Linked DNA regions of Homo sapiens: all the other regions are linked to region 1. The links are contacts of gene promoters, found by promoter capture Hi-C in blood cells and fetal thymus (Javierre and others, 2016). All regions are on one chromosome and are shown on one strand. Each heading gives the region's core, a stretch centred on a gene start or on the middle of the fragment in contact. The rest is flanking DNA. Distances are from core to core; before and after follow the strand shown.

The links. The method cuts DNA at HindIII sites, captures the fragments that hold promoters and counts their contacts. A CHiCAGO score of 5 or more calls a contact.
Region 2: a fragment that was not itself captured here is called in contact with the fragment with the promoter of DCTPP1 in region 1 in 1 of 17 cell types (naive B cells); the score reaches 6.0 in naive B cells.
Region 3: a fragment that was not itself captured here is called in contact with the fragment with the promoter of DCTPP1 in region 1 in 4 of 17 cell types (total B cells, naive B cells, activated CD4 T cells and 1 more); the score reaches 7.1 in total B cells.
Region 4: a contact is called between a fragment that was not itself captured here and the fragment with the promoter of DCTPP1 in region 1, in 2 of 17 cell types (fetal thymus and endothelial precursors). The highest score is 8.2, in fetal thymus.

Annotation. Positions count from the first base shown.
Region 1 is chr16:30,428,638-30,431,337 of GRCh38, reverse strand. DCTPP1 (dCTP pyrophosphatase 1) reads left to right here and starts at 1,308. Exons shown (of 3, transcript NM_024096.2): 1 at 1,308-1,458; 2 at 2,171-2,281. The coding sequence starts at 1,358. RefSeq lists enhancers at 861-970, 1,371-1,450, 2,204-2,700. The HindIII fragment of the contact is 11,131 bases long and covers 1-2,299 here.
Region 2 is chr16:30,686,839-30,689,538 of GRCh38, reverse strand. No RefSeq gene overlaps it. Among named protein-coding and RNA genes, the nearest start is that of SRCAP, 11 kb to the left of the region's middle. The HindIII fragment of the contact is 3,737 bases long and covers 1-2,700 here.
Region 3 is chr16:30,705,217-30,707,916 of GRCh38, reverse strand. It overlaps SRCAP (Snf2 related CREBBP activator protein), which reads right to left. Exons shown (of 34, transcript NM_006662.3): 5 at 549-734; 6 at 205-345. Among named protein-coding and RNA genes, the nearest start is that of SNORA30, 4.0 kb to the left of the region's middle. The HindIII fragment of the contact is 157 bases long and covers 1,214-1,370 here.
Region 4 is chr16:30,051,152-30,053,851 of GRCh38, reverse strand. It overlaps LOC112694756 (uncharaterized LOC112694756), which reads right to left and starts at 701. Exons shown (of 14, transcript NM_001365304.2): 1 at 635-701; 2 at 353-388. The coding sequence starts at 358. It also overlaps a transcript of TLCD3B not described here. RefSeq lists an enhancer at 1-298. The HindIII fragment of the contact is 1,085 bases long and covers 829-1,913 here.

The sequences.
Region 1 (2,700 bases), core at 59-2,558:
ACTTCGGGAGGCCAAGGCAGGAGGATTGCTAGAGCCCAATCCAGCAATCCTGGTTCAAGACCAGCTTAGGCAACATGGTGAAACCCTGTCTCTATAAAAAATTTAAAAAATAAAAATAATAGATTTCTTTTTCTTGCTAAAAGCAGTTTAAACTTGTTTCTGTTGCATGTATCCAATCTTAACTGCTGGATAATATCATTTGTATAAATATACTTCCATGTAGCCATTCTTCCGTTGATAGTCATTTTATTTTCAATTTTTTTCACTCTTAGAAACAAAACTGTAATGAACTTCTTGCATGTGTCTCTCTGCACATATTCATTAATTTCTCTAGGGCATATACCTAGAATTGCAATTGTCACAGCCTTGGGATTTTAATTTCCAAAATCTGACTCTGCCTCTTCCTGCGCTTTCTTACGCTTTCACTTCCAGCAAGCTGGAAGCCTCTTTAAACGTGGAAATCAGAGATAGTAGCCCTAATAAGGGTACAATAATAAATCATTCTTTGCAAGACTACACCTGTTCTAGGGTTTCATAAAGATCTCTGCTCCTCCCATGGCCAATAACTCAGTGGTTCTGATTTGAAAGCAGCAACCCTGTGACTCGCCACCTCGCGTATTCCCTGGTGTGAGTGGAGCCTGGAGTTCTCGTGTGTGGGGTGGAGGAGCCGTGCTGGGGACCCATGAGGCTGGAGAGGCCGGCACAGGCCAGACCATAAGGGGCCACGTGTTTCAGGGCAATGTACGTTGCGCTGGGGCCTACTGCCTCCCTTAGGACAGGGATGGGGCGACCTCCATCGTTTCAACCACAGGACACAGCGATGGCGGGGAGCTGAAGTCCTACTGCCGTCTGATCTTACTCCGCTCTTCCCCTTCAATCCCATCCAAATAGTGTGGGGGTTGGCCTCGAGGTTTCTCAACGTCCTTAAGCCCTGATTTAATACCTATGCATAGGGCCTTTCATTTATAGGGTTTTCCACCTGACGGGCCCTCTTCCGCTGCCGTTTCGCTTTGGCGCCCTCTGGCGCCCATAAACGAAGTGACGCGCCTGCGCTTCCCCCACCCTCTGCCCTTCGTCTCTTCCCCAGGTCGAATTGGTACCTCTACCTTTAGACACAGGGCCTAGCGGAAGAATTCCAGGGCCTAAGACTAGAAACGCGCGCTTGAAGCTCCCTCAGATTGGTCCAGTGAGGGAAGGGGAGGGCTGTAGCAAACTCCACAAAAGTCATTGGTCTCTTTCCTCAGGCTCCGCCCCGTGAGGCAATAGAGAACTCCCGTAATTGGTCGGAGCTCTGGAGGCGGGGCTTCGAGCGTGGCTCGTGGGTTTTCCGTGAAGTCGCGGTGCAGCGGTGGGCGGCATGTCTGTGGCCGGTGGGGAGATTCGTGGGGACACGGGGGGAGAGGACACTGCTGCTCCCGGCCGGTTCAGCTTCAGCCCGGAGCCCACGCTCGAGGACATGTAAGCAGGCCTGGCCCAGCTCGGGGTGGGGAAGTCGCCCCTTTCTCCCGCGTTTTGGGGAGGGTTCCTCCACGTGGTCGGGAAGCGGGCTGGCAGCGGGGCTCGGGTCCTGGCTCTGTGGGCTGTCCCTGGGTGAGCCTTCTTACCTCATCTGCAAAATGGGCGCAGCGGTGCACACCTGAGGCAAGGGAAATTGGGTGGTGCCTCCGAGTGGTAACTAGGAACGCCCTTCAGCCTAGCCCTGGGAAGATACCGGCACCAGATACCGCCTCTGCTCTCCAGGCGCCGGGGGTACGAGAGGGGCAAACGAAGTGCTGAGAGGTGGGAGACGTTATTTTTTGCTGGAGGAGGTCAAGAAAGGCTTCTTAGAGGAAGGGTCTGTGGAACTACCTTCTGTAAGAGAAATTGCATTTTGATGTGCGGCGATTCCAGGTGGAGGAAACTGCAGAAGTAGCAGCAGGAGATGGAATAATGAAGAGGGTTTTGTTAGTTTTGGCGAGATGTTAAGGGCAGTTCAGGGGCACGCCCATTTTATAGATGAGGGAACCAAGTTCCGGAAAGAGGAAATGACCTGCACAATACCATCCAATGAATTAGTTGCAGAATCTCCTGGTCCCAGGCCCCATTACATACTACGGGGGTAGCTGCCTCTGGCCCCTGCATCACCCTCTAACCCGGAGACTTGGACTTACACTCCTTTGTCCTATTTCAGCCGCCGCCTCCATGCTGAGTTTGCTGCGGAACGAGACTGGGAACAGTTCCATCAGCCTCGGAATCTCCTCCTGGCCTTGGTTGGGGAAGTGGGGGAGCTGGCAGAACTCTTGTGAGTAGATGGAAAGCTTCCTGGTAGAGTCTGAGTTGTGGGGGAGGGGAGGGGAGCATTTATTTGGTCTTCAAACATTCATGGGTTCAGTTTCCCCTCCTGATTGCTAGGCTCTTTGCTGTTGTTGGGATGCAGAGAGGACTCACGGGTCCCTGCCCTCTAGGGGCACTCAGCCTCCTGGAAGAGAGAGGTGTGAGGTGTGAAAGCATCAGGACAGGTCCCGTCTAGGAAGAAGCAGTGGCAACAACCCTTTTCCCTTCTTTTGTTTTTTGTTTTTTTGGCTTTTTTTTGAGACGGGGTCTCGCTCTGTCGCCCAGGCTGGAGTGCAGTGGCTCAATTTCGGCTCACTGCAACATCCGCCTCCTGGGTTTAAGCAGTTCTGTCTCAGCCCCCCGAGTAGCTGGGACTACAGGTGCCCC
Region 2 (2,700 bases), core at 81-2,580, 260 kb before region 1:
TAAAATATAATAATGGCTGATACGTGTTATGAAAAAATGAAGTGGGGTGGATGAGCTCGGGTGAGGGGCAGAAGAGGCATTATTTTAGACAAGATTGTCTGGGAGGGCCTCTCTAGTGTGGTGACATTTGAACAGAGACGCTCTGGGGGAAGAGCATCCTAAGCAGAGGTAAATAAGTACAAAGGGGCCGGGCGCGGTGGCTCACGCCTATAATCTCAGCACTTTGGAAGGCTGAAGCAGGTGTATCACCTGAGATCAGGAGTTCGAGACCAGCCTGGCCAACATGGTGAAAACCCATCTCTACTACAAAAATTTGCTGGGCCTGGTGGCGAGCACCTGTACTCCCAGCTACTTGGGAGGCTGAGGTAGGAGAATCGCTTGAACCCAGGAAGTGGAGGTTGCAGTGAGCCAAGATCATTCCATTGTACTCCAGCCTGGGTGACAAGAGCAAAACTCTGTCTCATAAAATAATAATAATAATAAGTACAAAGTCCCTGAGGCTAGACCCAGCTTATCCTGCCAGGAACCCACCAGGAGACTGCAGGGGAAGGGGAACAGTGGGAGATGCGGTCTTAGAAGAGGATCAGGCCTGCATCTGGCAGGGCTTTGAAGACCAAGCTAAGGAGCTTAGATGGAATGTGAAGTGTAGCAGGAGGGCTTTGAGCAGAGGCCAGATACAACGTGCTGACAACGGACTGTTGGGATAAGAGTCTAAGTGACTGCTGTAGTCTAGGTAAAAGGTGATGGAGATTGAAATCTTTAAGCAGAAAGGGAATGTGGTGGTAAGGTTGACAGATTTAGCAAATAACTCTTCTGGGGAACCTCTGCGAGGAAACTCTGGAAGGCAGTTGTGGGTGGCTGAGGTCCCAGGAGGCTAGGAGAGGGTGCTAGAATACCTCTCCTCTCCACAAGGACTGAAAACTTCTCAGAACACAGCCAAGCACAGAGCCTTCGTGGGTTGAACCCAGCACATCTTAAGCAAACACACGAATCCAAAACATCCCAACCTTATGAGAAGGAAACTGTAATTATGACACCCAGTTCTAGGAAGGGTATGGGCAGCTAGGTGCACACACTGCTGTCGGAGGGACTGTAAGCATGCCCAAACTTTTTTATTTGAATTAAAAAATTATTCGGCCGGGCACGGTGGCTCATGCCTAATCCCAGCACTTTGGGAGGCCGAGGCGGGTGGATCATGAGGTCAGGAGTTCAAGACCAGCCTGGCCAAGATAGCGAAACCCCGTCTCTATTAAAAACACAAAAAAATTAGTGGGTAATCTTGGCAGGCGCCTGTAATCCCAGGTACTTGGGAGGCTGAGGCAGAGAATTGCTTGAACCCGGGAGGCAGAGGTTGCAGTGAGCCGAGATCACGTCACTGCACTCCAGTCTGGGCAACAGAGCGAGAGTCCATCTCAAAAAAAATTAAAAAAAATTCTTGAACCCAGGAAGCTGAGTTTTCAGTGAGCCGAGATTACGCCACTACACTCCATCCTTGGGCAACAGTGAGACTCCACCTCAAAACAAACAAACACAAAACAACAACAACAAAAGGAGAATATTGGCTGAGGTCACATGACATACAATAAATAAGAAAAGCCTTGATCCATTAAGTGACTCACAAAAGAGTGACCATTAAGTACTGCATTCTAAAAAAAAAAAAAAAAAAAAAAGGTGTGTAGAATAAGTACCTTCTGTTTTGTGGTCTTGTTAGAAAAAAAAAAGGAAACAAAACAAAAAAATAGCAGAATGTGTTTGTTAATTCCTGGAGAGTGGTACACAGGTGTTTTTTTGGTGTGTTTTTGTTGTTGTTGTTTGAGACAGAGTGTTACTCGTTGCCAGGCTGGAGTGTAGTGGCGCGATCTCAGCTCACTGCAACCTCTGTCTCCTGGGTTCAAGCGATTCTCCTGCCTCAGCCTCCTGAGTAGCTGGGATTACAGGCGCAGGCCACAGGTGTTTGTTATACTTATTTTTTAAACTTAAAAACAACTGGCCGGGAGCAGTGGCTCACGCCTGTAATCTCAACACTTTGGGAGGCTGAGGAAAGAGGATTGCTTGAGTCCAGGAGTTCCAGACCAGCAGGTGAAACATAGTCAGACCCTGTCTTTACAAAACAACAACTACTGAAAATGTTTTTAAGGTAGAGGTAAAACAAATGTTTGCTTTATCGTTACTATTTATTTATTTTTGAGACAGAATCTCCCTCTGTCCCCCAGGCTGGAGTGCAGTGGGCCTGACCTCGGCTCACTGCAACCTCCTCCTCCTGGGTTCAAACGATTCTCCTGCCTCAGCTTCCTGAGTAGCTGGGATTACAGGCATGAGCCACCATGCCCAGCTAAGTTTTCTGTATTTTTAGTAGAGACAGTTTCACCATGTTGTCCTCAGGTGATCCGCCTGCCTCGGAGGCCTCCCAAAGTGCTGGCATTACAGGCGTGAGCTACAGCACCCGGCTTATAGTTACTTTGGATTTTTTTGGGTTTTTTTTGTTTTTTTTTTTGTTTTTTTTTGAGAAGGAGTTTCACTATTGTTGCCAGGCTGGAGTGCAATGGCAAGATCTCGGCTCACTGCAATATCCGCCTCCTGGGTTCAAGCAATTCTCCTGCCTCACCCTTTCGAGTAGCTGGGATTACATGCACCCACCACAATGAATGCCCGGCTAATTTTTTGTATTTTTAGTAGGGACGGGGTTTCACCATGTTGGCC
Region 3 (2,700 bases), core at 43-2,542, 280 kb before region 1:
AGAGGTGTCAAGGAGAACTATTAACAATCCCCAAAGGCAGGACCCATATTTTGCCACTATACTTTTTTATCCATACAACATAAACGTCATTAGAGTTGCCTGAAATTATATTTACTCCCTCAAGAAGTTTTGATCATTCCTACTACCACGCCATCTACCAATCTAATCCAAGGCCATTTTCCTTTCCTGATCCCCACTGTCTACCTTCTCCACATTGCTCCAGAACTGCCTGACATCCTTGGCCATGGTGGAAGCAATTCGACGCAGCTTGGCCTGCTCCTCCCTCCGGGCCCGTTCCTCTTTCTGCCGCTGCTCCTCGTGGTGCCGGATCACCATGCGCACCACCTGTGGGAATGAAGACCCAGGGTGAAAACACTCAAAGCCAGACTTCCCCACCCAAAGGCAAAGAAAATAATCAAGGCCAAGAAATCTGGAAAATCAAGAGTTTGCTCTTAATGCCTACACCATTCTGTCTGGTCCCCTTCCAACAAACCGGGAAGGAACAGACCTGAAAAGGAAAAGGAAGGAAGTCCCAGCGGAAGACCTACCTTCCGGGCCACACCCCGTTTCCAACGGCGCTCCTGAGCAAAGTCAGCAGAGAGCCACTGCATCTCTTCGCACAAATAGTCCCAGTGACCTTTGGGGCGAGGGGGCTCTGGCACCTTAGGCAGCCTCTTCAGTGACCAGAAACCCTCCTTCCGCAGCTCAGCAATCCGAGTCTCGATCTCGGCCTCCTAATCAGGGAGAGCCAGATCAATCAACAGTTCTAAACACACACTCCATCTCACTGCCACGGCTGAATTCCTGAGCACTAAGTGGGCTGAGTGTGTTATGCTTATGTTTAGTCCACATACCAAACTTACAGGCAGGTATCATACTCTCTTCAGAGAAGGGAAAAAAGATCAGGGAGATGAAGAAGGAAAAAAGATCAGGGAGATTAAGTGATTTGCCCAAGATCACACAGCTAGAAAGTAATAGAAAATGTGAATCAAAAATAGGTCTGAGGACTCCAGACAGCAAATTTCATGCTCTTTCCATTATTTAACACAATCTCCACACCCCATAGACATAGGAGAGACTTGGGAAATCATATCCCAAGAGGAGCTTCCCAGAGGAGTAGGGAACACATACTTCCCTCTTGATTCTAGATACAAGGGGTCATCATCATTGTAGAATTCTACTTACTCAGAGTATTTTCATGATGCATTAAGCTTAGAAATATGCTATAATGCCCAACTGACACACTGTTGTTTTTAAAAATACTACTTTTGTAAAAATGCATATGTTTATGTAAAAAATACTGAAACGTTATACGTGAAATGTTTAACACTGATTAGGTGTAAAAAAGAGTGGTCATTTTTACTAAAGCTTCTACACTGATTGTCTTTTATTTAAAAAGCATTTAAAATTTTTTTGACAGAGACGACTCAAAAAATTCAGGACAACTGCCTTATTTCTTTTTCTGAATCTCACTCAGAAATCTGAGTGAGATTTTTCTGGGTCTCACTCTGCTGCCTAGGCTCAGGTTATCTTCCCAACTCAGCCTCCCAACTCAGCCTCCCAGGTAGCTGAGACTGACTATAGGCACATGCAACCATGCCCAGCTAATTTTTTTGTATTTTTCGTAGGGGCGAGGTTTCACAATGTCAAGGCTGGTCTGGAACTCCTGGGTTTAAGCAATCCGCCTGCCTGGGATTCCCAAAATGCTCAGATTATAGGCGAAAACCACCGCACCCAGCCTCTGTCTTTGTTATTTCTGTCCTCTCCTGATAAAAACTAAATCAGAGAAAATGACAGCCAGAGACCAGACAGGACTAAATGGCCTGACAGTGAAGGAAACATCAAGAAAGACGTGGATATTAGACCAGCTGCTCTCAAACTTGAGGAGGCACCGGAATCATCTGGAGGACTTTTAGAAACAGGTTGTGCTCACACCTGTAATCCCAGCACTTTGGGAGGCCAAGGCGGGTGGATCACAAGGTCAGGAGATCGAGACCATCTTGGCTAAAACGGTGAAACCCCGTGTCTACTAAAAACACAAAAAATTAGCCAGGCATAGTGGCGAGCGCTTAGTCCCAGCTACTCGGGAGGCTGAGGCAGGAGAATGGCGTGAACCCAGGAGGCGGAGCTTGCAGTGAGCCGAGATCATGCCACTGCACTCCAGCCTCAGCGAAAGACTGAGACTCCGTCTCAAGGAAAAAAAAAAAAACCCAATTGTGGCCGGGCGCAGTGGCTCATGCCTGTAATCCCAGCACTTTCAGAGGCCGAGGCTGGCAGATCACAAGGTCAAGAGATCAAGACCATCCCGCCAACATGGTGAAACCCCATCTCTACTAAAAATACAAAAAATTTAGCCGGGTGTGATGGCGGGCGCCTGTAGTCCTAGCTACTCAGGAGGCTGAGGCCAGAGAATGGCTGTGAACCCGGGAGGCGGAGCTTGCAGTGAGCCAAAATTCTGCCACTGCACTCCAGCCTGGGCGACAGAGCGAGACTCCGTCTCAACAAAATAAATAAATAAAATAAAAATAAAAATAAAAAATAAAAACATTGCTGGGCCCTACCCTCATAGTTTCAAATGGGTCGGTGGGTGAGAGGTACCAAGAATTTGCATTTTTTTTTGAGACAGAGTCTCACTGTTACCCAGGCTGGTGTGCAGTGGCATCATCTCAGGTCACTGCAACCTCCGGTTCCCAGTTCAAG
Region 4 (2,700 bases), core at 122-2,621, 380 kb after region 1:
CAATTTAGCCCTGCCTACCTCTCTCCCTCCCCCTCTTCCAAACACACGATAGCCCTAGCAGTTCCCCAAATGCTGCAGCCTCCCTCTCACCCCCAGACTGTTTCCTCTGCCGGAAATGCCTTTTCTCGTGGATTACTTAGTCAACTCCTTATCTTGCCAGGAATACCAGAAATGTGCCCTCCCGTGGGAAGTCCATTCCTGGACTCTTCCTGACAGCTCTCGTCCTGAGCTGGCAGGTTGTAGTCTCTGTTGGGTAGAAGCCCCCTCCCCAGTCCGTGCTGGAAGACAGGCCCATTCGGGGTTAGGAGAGGGCGCTGAGGGGGCCCAGAGAGGGGAAGGGGCCCGGACTTACGTCCATGGGGAAGGGCAGAGCCAGTCAGTCCGGGAGCTGCAGAAGGAAGGTTCTGGGTCTCAGAGGCTGAGAGGCACCGTTAGACCGGGGTGCCCACCCTCCTTCCCTTTCCTGTTTGGGGAAACTGAGGCCATGGCTGGGCCGGAGGGTGGAATTCGGGAAGGGGAATGGGGGGCGGGGGATCCGAGGCGGCGCCTTCCTCGCAGGCTCCAGCGCGCCCCAGGCCACTCCCCTCCTCAGTCCCCACACTCCGGGCTTCCCCAGTCGGTCAGCACCCATCACCTGCACCCTCGGGCCGCGGGCAATTCACGGATTCCGCGCCAAGCTAGGTCCAATCGTCCGAGGGACCGGCCCCGCCCAGAAGCCGTTCGCGGCATCCCGCTGTTGCCATGGTGACCAGAGCGGTGTTTGTACGGCGGCTGCCGAGGCCCAAACTCCCTCTTCCCGCCTCGCGCCTCCCTCTTCCCGCCTAAGCTTCAACTGTCACCGGCTCTGCGCCGCCGCGGCCCTCGGGGCTTTCTCGCGGGGAGCGAAGGGGAAGAGCGAATCCCGCCGCCGCCCGCCTGGGTCGGATCCTCATCAGATGCCGGACGTTGGAGGAGGCACCGGGTTCTGGGGCGCCACAGGAGGATTGAACCCCCAGGCTACACCCACCACTTGGATGTATCTCCGGCCAAGCCACTGAGCATCTGCAAAAGGGAGAAACGCCTGCCGCTCAGGGATATTGTAAACATCAATGCTACTTTTTATATTTTATTTATATTTATTTATTTATTTATTTATTTATTTATTTATTTATTTTTGAGACGGAGTCTCGCTCTGTCGCCCAGGCTGCAGTGCAGTGGCGCGATCTCGGCTCACTGCAACCTCCGCCTCCCGTGTTCAAGTGATTCACCTGCCTCAGCCTCCCGAGTAGCTGGGATTACAGGCGCGCACTACCACACCCGGCTAATTTTTGTATTTTTAGTAGAGACAGGGTTTCGCAATGTTGACCAGGCTGGTCTCGAACTCCTGACCTCAAGTGATGCGCCCGCCTCAGCTTCCCAAAGTGCTGGGATTATAGGCGTGAGCCACCGCGCCGGGCCCGGTTCTTTTTTACTGATTTATTTATTAATTGATTTATTTATTTTTTGGAGACAGATTTTCGCTCATCTCCCAGGCTGGAGTGCAATGGTGTGATCTTGGCTCACTACAACCTATGTCTCCTGGGTTCAAGCGATTCTCCCGCCTCAGCCTCCCGAGTAGCTGAGATTACAGGCGACTGCCACCACGCACACCTAATTTTTGTATTTTTAGTAGAGACGGGGTTTCACCATGTTGGCCAGGCTGGTCTCGAACTCCTAACCTCAGGCAATCCCGCCCGCCTTGGCCTCCCAAAGTGCTAGGATTACTGGCATGAGCCACTGTGCCCAGCCTTTTTTTCTGAATTTTTAGAGATGTGGTCTTGCTATGTTGTTAAGGCTGGTCTTGAACTCCTGGGCTCAAGCAGTCCTCCAGCCTCAGCCTCCCAGGTAGCTGGGATTACAGGCATAAGCCACCTTCAGTAGGATCTGCTGAAGCTTCCTGAACCAGTGTGTAGGGTCTCACATTTCCACAGCTTTGCAGTTGCTGATCCCTCTGCCTGGAACACCCTCTGTCTTCCCCTCAAACCTCTTCCTCATCCCTCAAGCACGTCCTCAGTTTTGCCTCTGTGAGGTCTCCCTGCCAACCTCAGGCAGAGGTGGCTGCTTTGGACTGTGAATTCCCACAGCATCCTACAGATACTGTTGTTCTCGCACTTCTCACAAGATACTTGAATTCCTCACTTCCATGTCTGGCTCCACAATTAGACTGCAAGTGTCTGGGGCCTGGTCTGAGTCATCTCCGTATCCTGAGCTCTAGTACTTGGCCTAGCCCTGGGAGCCTTGGTGAATACTCACTGATTCTTTTTCTTTCTTTCTTTCTTTTTTCTTTTCTTTTCTTTTTTTTTTTTTTTTTTGAAACGGAGTTTTGCTCTTGTCGCCCAGGCTGGAGTGCAATGGTGTGATCTCAGCTCACTGCAACCTCCGCCCTGGATTCAAGCAATTCTCCTGCCTCAGCTTCCAGAGTAGCTGGAAGTGCCACCATGCCCAGCTAATTTTGTATTTTTAGTAGAGACGGGGTTTGTCCATGTTGGTCAGGCTGGTCTCGAACTCCCGACCTTAGGTGTTCTGCCCGCCTTGGCCTCCCAAAGTGCTGGGATTACAGGTGTGAGCCACTGCGCCTGGCCTGTTTTTTTCTTTTAATAAAGTAGACATGGGGTCTCACTATGTTGGCCAGGCTAGTCTCCAACTCCTGCCTCAAATGATCCTCCCACCTCGGCCTCCCAG